Linked DNA regions of Homo sapiens: all the other regions are linked to region 3. The links are contacts of gene promoters, found by promoter capture Hi-C in blood cells and fetal thymus (Javierre and others, 2016). All regions are on one chromosome and are shown on one strand. The core of a region is centred on a gene start or on the middle of the fragment in contact, and the rest is flanking DNA. Distances in the headings are between cores, read along the strand shown. Region 1 overlaps DHX36 (DEAH-box helicase 36). Region 2 overlaps DHX36 (DEAH-box helicase 36). Region 3 holds the start of CCNL1 (cyclin L1).

Region 1 (4,164 bases), core at 1,570-4,069, 2.9 Mb before region 3:
TAAAAAACCCCCACAAAACTGGCCATGCATGGTGGCTTAGGCCTGTCATCCCAGCACTTTGGGAGGTTGAGGTAATAGGATCATTTTGAGCCCAGGAGTTAGAGATCAGCCTGGGCAACATAGTGAGACTCCATCTCTACAAGAAATTTAAAAAATCAGACAGGTGTGGTGGCACAAGCCTGTAGTACAAGCTACTTGGGAGGCTGAGGTGGAAGGCTCACTTGAGCTGAGGAGATCAAGGCTGCAGTGAGCCATGATCGTGCCACTGCACTGCAGCATGGGTGACAGAATGAGACCTTGTCTCAAAAAAGCCCACAAAAAATAAAACTATGCTCACTGCCATAAAAAAGGTTTTATTTTTAATAAATTACAAGGTATATGGTAGAGAAAAAAGATTAAGGTATATAAACACGTTATGGTGTTTAAAACTTATGTAATCATCAGTATTTGATATTTAAAACTATTTTTACCTAGTCTCCGCAATGTTGGTAGCAATTACTATTTTCCGAACACCAGGAGGGGTTCTTTTAAACACCTGTAAAAATAAATACATCAGAATCACAAAAGTACACTAACTTCTAATACATTATATTTGTAATTAGAGGAATTACCTCAGATACTGTTCATTTTTAGCATTCTATGTTCATTCACTGACATATACATCTAATATTTATCGATGTATTTATGAAGTACAGATCATTTTCAATATTACAAAATTATCTTTTGGTAAACCACATTAAATCTCCCACAGATGTCACAATCTTATCACAAACAAGATTTCCAATGAGGTATCATTATTTAAATTTACAGCAGTTTTTTAACAAAAGCTGGAGGTTATAAAGTAGAGGGAGGGATATTTCTGTTAGGACAAGAATAATGAAGTCAAGTCTCCATGGGTAAGAACACTGAATAATCAGGCAGATGCCCAACCCAGCAGAACAAATGTCAACTGTGCAGCTGTACCAACCACTGTCTACTAGCTTGAGATCAGATTGGAGTGAAAAAAAAAAATCCTCTTTAAATGGAGAATTCTACAAATACTGCCCCACAACCCGACAATGTCACTAAAGTAGAAAGAAGATAGGTAATCAAGTACCACTGGCGATAATGCAAACAAACAAAAAGCAAAAACTTATCCCTTCATTTACAAAACTGGTAGTCAATACAGAAAATGTTTCCCAGGCTATTCACATACTCTCCAGCAAAGGAATACATAATTTACTAGGTTATGGTGTGGAAGATGAATACTTCCATGCTGGATACTCTTTCAGTCTTTGGAATCAAGAGTTTTCTTTCTTGCCCCCTCTCTTCTCTCAGGTATGTACTCTGTATCTAATTCATGACTAAGGTACCAGCAACAAAAATATTAAAAGGGTCTCAAAGAAAAGTATCTTGATATTTTCTTATAAAAAGAGAAAAGGATAAACTAGAAATGGGGGGAGGAGCAGGTTTTCTAATCAATTTCATTTTGCAAGAGCCTGCAAATACTGTAGATCATAACATTATCCTGCCTCTGAGAATGTAGTGTTCACTCTAATTAGGAAAGCGCCTGTATCTGATGGAGCCAAACATTCATAATACATTATTAAAACAGAAATTTTATACCTGTGAATATACTAGCTTTGTGAAATTAAATCTCAAATCATCATCAAACTGTAGTATGTCACAGATCATTAATTTCTAGGTTTGGTTACTTTTAGTAGTACTCACAGACCTTTTTCTCTTACTCAGGAAACTCAACGAAGTTACTGGTGAAACCAATTCTTTAAACTTTTTCCTAATGTAGACAAAACTAATCTGATTTGTGGGTTATCCGCTGATATTCAAGTTTTTGAGCAATCATCCCCTGAAGACTCATTTGCAAAGGTTCTCAAAGAAGTATTTTTTTACATGAATTACTATTTGAAAATACTCCTTAAAAAAAATAAAGGAAAACACGTAACAAGCAGTCCTTAAAGCTTGCCTCAGTTTGAAATACATTTAACAAATGTATCCATTTAACATACCTGTGTCTGGTTAACTGTAGGCATCAGTGAATGTAAAGGTATAATTAAAAATTTATCTGAAAATTAAAGAGAATTAAATTTTAAGATAAAGAGTTGCAGAAAAGCTCCATCAAACACATATGAGACAATGAATTCAGAAGCTGAACCACTCAATTCTTTTTTTGATAAGACATTGAACATTATTTAATGAAAACAGCTAAACCATCTGAGTTGACAAACTGCCCATGTGTTTAAGTGAACCAAAAATTCTTTATTTTTATTTCTACATACAAACAGACCAACTTAATTTCTTTATAGTCTTGTTTTCTGAGCGCTCCAAGTTCAAGCTAACATTTTGTTCTGTTAGTTTATTTCATATTGATAAGTATTTTCCCCAAATTCTTAAAGAATGCTCAAAAGTTGGGAGTAATCTTTTCAAATTACACCAATAAAAACTGAATGAATAGGCAACAATTCTGTTTAACATGAATACGTTTGTACACTTTGGGTGATCCTATTTTTTTGTTGTTCAGTCAGGGTCTCATTCTGTTGCCCGTTGCTGTGGTGTGATCTCTGCTCACTGCAACCTCTGCCCCCTGGGCTCAAGTGATCCTCCCACCTCAGCCTCCCGAGTAGCTGAGACCACAGGCATGCACAACCATGTTTGGCTAATTTTTGTATTTTTTGTAGAGATGGGGATTTGCCATGTTGCCCAGGCTGGTCTTGAACTCCCAAGCTCAAGCAATCCACCCACCTCAGCCTTCCGAAGTACTGGGATTACAGATTACAGGCATGAGCCCTGCACCTGGCAATCCTCACTATTTTAATCAAACCGATAATATCTAAATTTTTAGAGCAAATTACTTATTAAATACCCATGTCCTAGTTAGAAAATAATGAAATAGTCCTTGTTAAAAATAATACATTCCAGGCCAGGCGCGGTGGCTCATGCCTGTAATCCCAGCACTTTGGGAGGCCGAGGCGGGCGGATCACGAGGTCAGGAGATCAAGACCATCCTGGCTAACACGGTGAAACCCCGTCTATACTAAAAATACAAAAACTTAGCTGGGCGTGTTGGCGGGCGCCTGTAGTCCCAGCTACCTGGGAGGCTGAGGCAGGAGAATGGCGTGAACCTGGGAGGCGGAGCTTGCAGTGAGCCGAGATCGCGCCACTGCACTCCAGCCTAGGTGACAGAGCGAGACTCCGTCTCAAAAATAATAATAATAATAATAATAATACATTCCAAAAGTGACCCACATTTTACACATATTTTGTTAAAAATATAAGAAATTCCTACTTTTTAAGTTTCCAAATGAAATAGCTCAAGCCCATTCACAATTATTAGCCAACACAGAAAGTCTGGTGTAATACAGTGATGGGTGAAAGGGAGAGTATCAAGAAAGCAAGAGTTAATTTCACATTTAACTATGCTTACAAAAATACAATCTGACTTAAATGCCCAAATGATTCAAGTCAGCTATACTTCCCCAGAAAAGAACTGTTGTTATCTAAAGGATATGATGATCCCCATGGACTCTGACTGTGAAGAGATTTTACGAATCTTAAAAATAAAAAGTAGTGAACAGCTGCCAAGCAACTGATGTTGCTAAAAAAGAATCCTCTGAATTACTTGTCTCTGTGACAGTATGAAATATTACAACTATAATATTCAAGCCAAAAATACTTGAATTGAATCAAGCTTTCAGATATAACTTTCGAGTTACAGGAAATAAAGGTAAGAGAGAATCAAATGAAATGATAGCATAAAGAGTCACACAAATTCAGAAAGTTGGACTTATTAGAGAACAAATGGCCTGGTCTTTTCCATGACTTTACATTACCATGAGGAAAAGCAGGGAGTGGAGGGGAGCAATGTTCTAGAGCTAGATCAAAAGATGTTGACACTTTCTATAGTTTGAACAGGCTAGTTGTGAAAGACACTTTTCAGAAAAATGGGAAAATCTGATTACAGACTGGATTATCAGATGGTATTAAGGATTAGGTATGATAAAGACATGATGGTTATATAGAAAATTGCCTTTAGAGATTCTTGCTTATACATTTAGAAATGAAATGTGACAGCTGCAATTGACTTTAAGAAAAAACTAGGACTGAAAAAATAATTGTTGGCACTGAAGTCGTGGATTCATTAAGATTCTCTAGTTTTGGCTGGGTGCA
Region 2 (4,176 bases), core at 1,324-3,823, 2.8 Mb before region 3:
TCACAGGGTAAATTGGCTAGAATCCGAAAGTATTTTTATTATCTCATGGCTTGTGTAAAAACATTATAAAGAATAATTTACCAATTCCTTTTATGTCTGAAACATTCAAAACCAGAACTCCATTACATCCAGCAAAATAGAGACAATGCTTTAAGTCAGTGGCAGTAAAATGAAATCGGATCTGTCCTCTAACAGTATTCTAATAATTGCTAAATTACTTTCACTATTTTTCAATATGTTTTATATATTCATCTTAGATTTGATTTCTATATTATGTTTTTCCCACCCAACAGTGCACTATTTACTAATACATTAAGTACTGGAGCAGAATCAAAAATTTCAGGATATACTTGCCTTTGAGTGTAAGAGAAAACTTAAAACAAGTAATATCTGCAGTCAGAAAATCTGGTACTGCCATTTTAGAGCTGTGATCTCAGTTAAGTCAAACTTAAAGTATGAATGCCTCAAAGATTTTATCTCATACGGTTGCCACAAGATCTAAATGAAAAACCTTTATATAAAAAGCAAATACCAGTTTCTGAAACATATAAGCTACTCAATGAATTTCAAATGTGTTAAATTACAATTAGAATACTACAAAAGGAATGACTATTTTTCCTATATTTATGTGACAATTTCTTCCTAATTCTGAAAACTTTTATGGAACTCTATACCCGTATTACATAAAAACATTTAAGAAGCAGTCCTGTAGTTTACATTCAACTAGGTACATATAATGTAAAAAAAAAACTTCAGTGGCATAAAAATAAAGTCAGCTTTAATAAACACCCTTTATTAAGATGGAAAAAATCGGCTGGGTATGGTGGCTCACGCCTGTAATCCCAGCACTTTGGGAAGCCGAGGCAGGCAGATCATGAGGTCAGGAGTTTGAGACCAGCCTGGCCAGCAAGGTGAAATCCCGTCTCTACTAAAAATACAAAAAGTTAGCTGGGCATAGTGGCACACGCCTGTAGTCCCAGCTACTTGGGAGGTTAAGGCAGGAGAATTGGTGGAGGTTGTGGTGAGCCGAGATCGTGCCACGGCACTCCAGCCTGGGTGACAGAGCAAGACTCCATCTCAAAAAAAAAAAAGGAAATAATTAAAATATATATATATATATATATATATATATATATATATATATATATATATAAAATAAATAAAGAACTGTCTTTGGTAATCTAGTATTATATTATTGCCATGTTTGTTATGGTCAGGTAATTCTTACCAATACCATAAAAATAACAGTCAATGTGAAGACTGAAATGAATTCTAGTCATTTAAAATAACAAAAGCTACCACACTTATCTTACCTTGTAATAACTTACTTATCTTGTAATAATTTTTAAATTATCTAAAAACTATTTTTAATGACATAAGTATTAACACCCCAGGTAGTCAAATGTTACCATCTTAACACATAATTATACACAAGCTATCCCACTGCATTTCAAACTGGCATTAATCGTATTTGCTTTATACATGTAAATGCCACTGGAAAGAGAGGTATAGTCCAATATTCTTTCCCAAGGCAGCCAAAGTTTCTACTTTGTTAACTTTTGACCATAACGAAGATGTGAGATAATTCAACTATAAGCTCTCTGAGGACAGGAAATATCTTATTACTCTTCAAAAACAGTAATAAGCATAACTGGCTGGTGTGGCTCACTCCCATAATTACAGAATTTGGGGAGGTGGAGGTAGGAGGATTGCTTGAGCCCAGGAGTTCAAGACCAGCCTGGGCAACAAAGCAAAACCCTGTCTCTACAAAAAATACAAAAATTAACCAGGCGTACTGGCACATGCCTGTAGTGCCAGCTACTCAGGAGGCTAAGGTGGAAGGATCACTTGAGCCCAGGAGGTCGAGGCTGCAGTGAGCCATGATGGCACCACTGTACTCTAGCCTGGGTGACAGAGTGAGACCCTGTCTTAAATATATATATATACATACACGCACACATATATAGCACAGTAACTGGCATCCAGTAAGTAGAAAATTAATGTTTATTAAAGAACATAAAGAAAAAATATTGCACATGCTAAAAATGATTAAAAAGCTGAGTTGTTAAACACAGCTGAATTTTAGATCTGATTCTGTTATGAGCTATGCAACCTCAGGTAGGTCACTTAAATCTTTTTCCTCATCTACAACAGACATGTAGTCTCTTATTCAAGGTTGTTGAGAAGCTTAAATAATATAGTACACATGAAGCATTTATGACAACATATGGGAAATAGGAAGACCACCAACTTTTTAAATGTTTTACACATTTTTCTTTCTCTGAACTAGATCAATCACCCATCTTTAGTATATGAGTTCTGTCCATCATATACAGCAAAGAGAAAGACACTAATTCCTCCTGTTAAGGCTGTTAAAGCAGCTCTTCTCAACCAGAAGATTCTCAATTAATTCATCCTGAAATTTCCTCCATTTTCAAATCACATTTTTACCCAACAGGCATCAAAGAGCTACACAATTTGGCCCTGGACAACCTCAGCTTATCTATTCTAATACGGAAATCCAACTGTCATCAGTAACAGTCAATGGATCCTTTCTTTCCTATTAAGGAAATTCAGCTTTCATCAGTGAGCCAAGGGATCCTTTCTTTCCTATAGGAGGTGCTATATCCTTCCTTTATCAAAGACAGCAGTATGTATTTACATATTAAAGATATGGCCCTCAGAGTTTCCTCAGTAATTTCTCTTAAACATATACATACATACATGAGACCACTTTATTACATCTCTAGAACACCCACAAATCACACAATTTTATGTTTTAACTGAAAGGGACCTTAAAATATCTTGCCTAGCATAGAAAGAAAATATCAGAATTCAGGAGATCTCAGGTGTTGTGATAGTCCTGTATTTAAAATGTTAGTGAACAAAGCACATCACATAATTTTTGAAATATTTAATTTTATCATCTATAAAAAGAAGATGTATTAAGTAATCTGGAACAAGCTTTACAATTTTAACTGCCTTTACTGCACATGGCACCTCACTAAACTGGCCTAGAAAAGCTGAAGAGTAAGTTTTTTTTTCATTGGCACTAGCATTTCTCAAACATTTCTTCTCACCACATAAGCTTCTGTGGATGAGATAGGATACTGTAGGTTATGTGTAACTTCCATTCCCACTGCTTTTCTCTACCATTCGAAAAGAAATTAATTCCCACAGGGATGTCTTGTTGAGGATCTCACTGATCTATGCCATGCAGCTACCTCTAACCATACATACATTTTTATAAAGTGTAAGAAAAAAATGACAAAATATTTTTTGACATCTTTCTACTACCTGCATTTCAATATACCGAAGGTCATTTTTTTTCTTTTGTAAATCTTCCAATAATTTTTGGTCTAAAGTTCCATCTGGTTCATTTTCTTGCAAGAGATACTCAGAATCTCGGTCAATATATGATCTGTTCCTGATTCTAAACATTTTTTTTTCTTGATTTATCAACTTCTTTTCCTGGATGTCAAGTTTGTTCTCTGAGCATGGTGTGTTCTTAGTAGAAACTTCAGTACCGTATCTGTTTTGACAAAATAAGAAAGGAAGAAAGGTCAGATGAGCCACTCAAACACTGGAACAAAACAAAACAAAACAATACGCTGTTGAAATATTTCAAAGTCATCCAAATCCAAAGCTTTTCTTTTCTCTTAGTACAGTAATTATGAAAATATACTTAGATTCTTATAATAAATTCAAATTTTTCTTCCCTTTAAATAGATATTGCCAGATTAAGTTATTCCTTGTGATAGTTAAAAATAAAAATCCACAGAATAGTCATTCCTTCACTGCGGTTACTTACAGTGTTTCTCTTTTTCTGGATTTCTCGAACTTGTTTTATGTCACAACATCTTTTTTTCTTGCCACCCTTTCTGAGCTACAAATAGGATGCTACAATACACAGTCTTTGAAATACTTGTACTAATTTTTCCTCTAAATGATACAGTTCTTGTAATCTTTCTAAAACGGTAGCAATTTCACTTCTTGCAGATCTCCCAGACAGAATAATTTCATAAATACAAAGAGGACAGGTAGGGAGAACAATAAATAACAACTTAATACATCTCATATCCAGATACACTATTATTCATACCATTTAGCTTTCCTATGGAAACATGCCATCTAAATTTTTAAAAGTCATTTTCTAAATCTGTTTAATCTACATAA
Region 3 (4,659 bases), core at 1,179-3,678:
AAAAAGTATGTAGGAAAACTGTTGCAGACTTTTTGACTAGGATACTCTTTTTTTAAAAAAGAACTGTCTGTAGACTCACAGAATAGACTAGTCATCTTAAAGTTGCTTTAATATTTGCTTGTCTGAATAGTTCCATTACTGCCAACTTACAGATTCAGCCAATAAGGACTACTCATATAGAATACTAACAGCACTAACCAACATACCCAACCCCCAGAACAACTTATAATCCTTTTAATAACTTCCTTTCAAACTCAGTACAATTTGTCTAACATCACTACAATTCCTTAAAGAGTGAATGCAAAAACTATTCTACACCAAATATATCATTCTGCAGCATGTACTGGAAGTCACCTGTAGATGCAGGAAGTCCTGCAACAAACTTTTTGGTACTGCCTCACAGGAACACATAGGTCCACATAAAATTATGTTACCACAACACCTAGGAGATACTATTTCAGTCTCTGTATTTTCTTACAACATCAAATAAATGGCCCTATCTAAATGCAACCCAATCAATCTTACTTGTTAATTTTCTAACCCACTCACTGAGACTGTATCTAACCAAAACAAAATACCTGTTTAATCCCTTTGACTTCAAACTTCAAACTTTATCATCCTGCAGTCCTTTCAGATCCGGTATTATTCGATTTATCGTAGTTCAATGTTGAGAAGTACTCTAACAAAAGCCAACCTCAATTGATAAAGAATTAACTGGGACTTCGAGTAGAAAAACATAATCTACACAGAACTTTGCCACAATATTAACTTAAACTACAGTGTTTAAACTTCCAGCCTTCAGTCTTCCAGAGAGGGGAGAGGAAAAATAACTTACAGAATACACTCACACTTGAGCCAAATGTACTCCCTTTCTTGTTTAATCTTAAGCCACAGGCCTGGCTTCACAGCACTGTTAGGATTGTCCATAAATGCAACTGCCTCTACAAACTTTAGATAACCGGTTAATTATGTTTCTTTTTTCAAATTATTTTAAGTATCAGTGTTCCTATATGAACTTTAACACCTAAATTAAAGTCCGTTTTCTTTTGCATCCGTATTCACTTGAAAGGAAAGATGTTTTGATTTGATGACTGGTGCACGGTACAGCAGTAGCAAGAGATACTATGTTCAATAATGCCAATCTTACCTTTTTCCTCTTAACTGGCGGAGGTGGTGGAATACATTAATCACATCTCTTATTCTTCTAGGTGCTTCTTCGATTTTTGATGCAAGATTAATACAAGCCATAGCAACAATCTGAAAGAACCCATGAGCCACAAAAGCCATTGTTAGATTAAACTCACTTTGAAGAATAAAATTTAGAACACAATTGGGACAACCTTTAGTAAAATTAGAGAAGACATCTCTATGCCGTAAGTCTACCAGCTATGCTAGTACTATACTTTTTGTTGTTTAACTCATCTTAATTTTGGTTCCAGAGTCAAACTCAATCTTACAGGAGTTCTGCATTTGGTTGAAAACTGTACTTTTCGTTAAGAGGGCACTTAGGCTCGTGATCGATTTTGAACCACATTCTAAAGGTTTCCACTTCCTGGCGAGTGAGAAGTAGGTACAAAGGCCTAAACTAAACCACTCCCTTTCTGGAAAAGCTGGCTGCTGACACTACCCCTACTCTGCCCATTTCCGGATGAAGAAATCCCTTTTACCCGCCTCCGCTGTGCTTACCTCGAAACTGTGTTTGACGAAAGATTTGGAGTAGAAAAAACGATGAAACAACACCTGCCCCGTTGCCATCGCCACCTGCAGACAAGAGAGGAGAACGGAAGCGCAGGGGTCAGGCGGGCCCGCTCCAGGCGCCGCCGCCATTTTGTGCCGCCGATCGCTTCCCTTTCCCCTCCCGCCGCCGCCGCCGCTGCGAACAGCCCGCTGCCAAGTCCTCCCTCCGCCTCCGCAGCCCCCCGCCCCGGCACGCCCCGGCCGCGGCTGGGCCCCGAACGGGAAAGCCTGAAGGAACCGTCCCCACCCTCCCGGGGCACGGTGATACTGAGATGCGGCGTAGGGGACGGAGGAGAGGAGAGGAGCGCCCGGCCGGCCCGGGGCCGGAGCACTGACCTGCGGCAGCCGGAGGAGAATGCCGGCGGCCTGGATGAGCTCGCAGCCCAGGATGCGTAAGTCCGTCTCACTGGGCAGGTCGAGCCCATCCTGCATGGATGGGGTGGGCGAGAGCCTCTCCTCCGGAATCAGAGAGTGGTCGATGGTAAGTGAAACTTCCGAGTACAGGCGATCGCCGATCAGGATCCCTCCCGTCGTGGTCGTCGTCGTGGTCGTCGTCCCGGAGCTGGAGCCGCCCGCGCTTGGGGCGGCCGATGAGGCGGCTGCGGCAGCAGTAGCTGTCGAATGAGGCCCGGACGCCATAGTCTTAGCGAGCCGCACGCAAGCCCAACGCAGCCGGAACCCGAAACAAGACTAACCAGCGTTCTCGGCGCGACGGATATTCCCGTGACCGCCGGGTTCTGGGCCGCTTCACGCCGCGTGCGCTTCCGCCCTGACGTCACCACGCCGGGCAGCCGCGCGCCAACTAGTCCCTCCAGGCCGCGCCTCCGCCCTCGGCATCTGGGCCTGCGAGGGGAGTGTTGGGTGCTGCGACAGACCTTGGGATCCTCAGAGGCTGAGGAGGCCTTCTCTAGCCAAGGCCGGTCGAAACCACCTTGTTTGTGATAGCCACACGAATAACGGAGCTTTACAAGATCCCTTATACCCAAAATAGAGGTGGCAGCATTGGCTAGCATCTCTGCGCCCCTTCGCCCTGCATTCCGGCCTCTTCCTTTAGCCTCGGCGCGGCTTGCGTTCCGCGTGTACCAAGGGAAGTGGCGGCCGACCTGAGCGCGCTTTGGCGGGTGGAAGTGGTGACTTTGTTGTCCTGTGTGGACGAATGTGTAATATAAAGTGACCCTCAAGGAATCTGGAGAGGGCTGCTTTACAGTATTTGAAGAACACAGGGCTGTGGACCCTATCGGTTCCCAAATGAAAGCTCCCCGGGGAGCGTGTTTTTGCCAGTATGGGGAAGTAGGGCGGAGGCATAGGAATGACCGCGAGAGTGGCTGCTTTCATAGCTCCGCTTGCGAAACTCCTGCCCGGCCTTTGACACCGCCACGGCTTTCAGTAATCTGGAAAATCCCTAGTTTCCAAAAATAGTCTTAGGGCGAGGACTTGACAGAGGTAATTTGATTATGCCTGGGAGTCTCTATTCATACATGGTTACCTACCGCGGGTAGGGTGAGGTCAACCTCGTGTTTTTTGTTTTTTTTCCTGTGATATTAGCTAGCAATTTCCAGCGTTTCCTGAACCTTGAAGTAAAAACAATGATACTGATCTAAACTACTAGAATCTAGGTTGGAAGGAAAGGAATGCATCACGTTTTACTCTTGACGCTCAGAAAGCGATACCCCAAAGACAGAGGCTTTAGAAGCTGCCTCATAATGCAGGTCCCCCAACCTTGACTTGTTGCTCCCACTTTTCCCAAGTGCAGGGAGGTACTCTCTGAAATTTCCTTTCCTGACTAGAGAAGCCTCTTTGTAGAAGAATCAATCGCATTCCTCCCCTCGCTGAAATCTCGTATCCTATTTCAAAAAGACTCAGAAATGCAGCCATTCCTGGAGGGACTTTTTCACAAGATTACTCAAAAGAAAATTATTTACTAATTTCTGTCCATTCATTGTTCCTAATAATCATTTGCTGCTCCTCAAAATAAATGTCTACATTTCTCATCTACCCTTTCCCCTATGAAAAAAAGATATAAAATCTTCTGTACTCCATTAAGCTACTGGGTAATCATCCTCCTGCTTTTACCCCGGTGTTATGTATCCCTTTTCTCCTGTTAATCGCCTGTTATCAGTTGATTTTTTTTTTCTTTTTTTTTAGATAGAGTCTCACTCTGTCGCCCAAGCTGAAGTGCAGTGGCGCGATCTCGGCTCACTGCAGCCTCCGCCTCCGGGGTTCAAGCGATTCTCCCACCTCAGCCTCCCCAGTAGCTGGGATTACAGGCACACACCACCACGTCCAGCTAATTTTTGTATTTTTGTAGAGACGGGGTTTTGCCATGTTGGCTAGGCTGGTCTTGAACTCCTGACCTCAGGTGATCCGCCCGCCTCGGCCTCCCAAAATGCTGGGATTACAGGCATCCAAAGCGCTGGAATTACAGGCATGAGCCACCGCACCCGGCCTTATCAGTTGATTAAGTGAACCTTCAGTGGGCAAAGTTGTTTTAAAATGTACTGATACTTGAGCCTTGCCTGCAGAGGTTGATGTCACTGATTTAAGGTGGGCCCAGCCAGTGGTTCAGTTTTGCCTGTCTTCGAGTGATTGGAATGTACAGCCAAGAGAGTGTAATTATGGTGCTGGCAGAAGTATTAACCTATCTGGATGTCACTGTCTTCACTTTCTGACTAGGCTGCTTCCAGGGAATCTTTCCACCTCAATATTTATGAGATATCTATAATTTTATAACAAACTTTTAAAGGAGCCTCGGTTTCCTTAAACACAATTGATGACACCAGTTTTCTGGTTTTCTTCCATTTTTGTTTATAGAGCCAGGGTCTCACTGTGTTGCCCAGGCTGGCCTTGAACTCCTGAACTCAAGGGATCTTCCCACCTCAGCCACCTGAGTAGCTGGGACTATAAGTGGCACACCACTGTGCC

Evidence for each region. The method cuts DNA at HindIII sites, captures the fragments that hold promoters and counts their contacts. A CHiCAGO score of 5 or more calls a contact.
Region 1: a fragment that was not itself captured here is called in contact with the fragment with the promoter of CCNL1 in region 3 in 2 of 17 cell types (non-activated CD4 T cells and total B cells); the score reaches 6.1 in non-activated CD4 T cells.
Region 2: a contact is called between a fragment that was not itself captured here and the fragment with the promoter of CCNL1 in region 3, in 1 of 17 cell types (total B cells). The highest score is 5.3, in total B cells.

What each region holds. Positions count from the first base shown.
Region 1 is chr3:154,293,278-154,297,441 of GRCh38, forward strand. DHX36 (DEAH-box helicase 36) reads right to left here. Exons shown (of 25, transcript NM_020865.3): 13 at 2,007-2,062; 14 at 471-535. Among named protein-coding and RNA genes, the nearest start is that of DHX36, 29 kb to the right of the region's middle. The HindIII fragment of the contact is 1,727 bases long and covers 1,957-3,683 here.
Region 2 is chr3:154,311,749-154,315,924 of GRCh38, forward strand. It overlaps DHX36 (DEAH-box helicase 36), which reads right to left. Exons shown (of 25, transcript NM_020865.3): 3 at 3,298-3,532. Among named protein-coding and RNA genes, the nearest start is that of DHX36, 11 kb to the right of the region's middle. The HindIII fragment of the contact is 777 bases long and covers 2,186-2,962 here.
Region 3 is chr3:157,157,719-157,162,377 of GRCh38, forward strand. CCNL1 (cyclin L1) reads right to left here and starts at 2,429. Exons shown (of 11, transcript NM_020307.4): 1 at 2,074-2,429; 2 at 1,687-1,761; 3 at 1,148-1,257. The coding sequence starts at 2,376. RefSeq lists enhancers at 1,641-1,710, 2,344-3,073, 3,161-3,210, 3,231-3,290 and a silencer at 1,851-2,060. The HindIII fragment of the contact is 11,903 bases long and covers 1-4,659 here.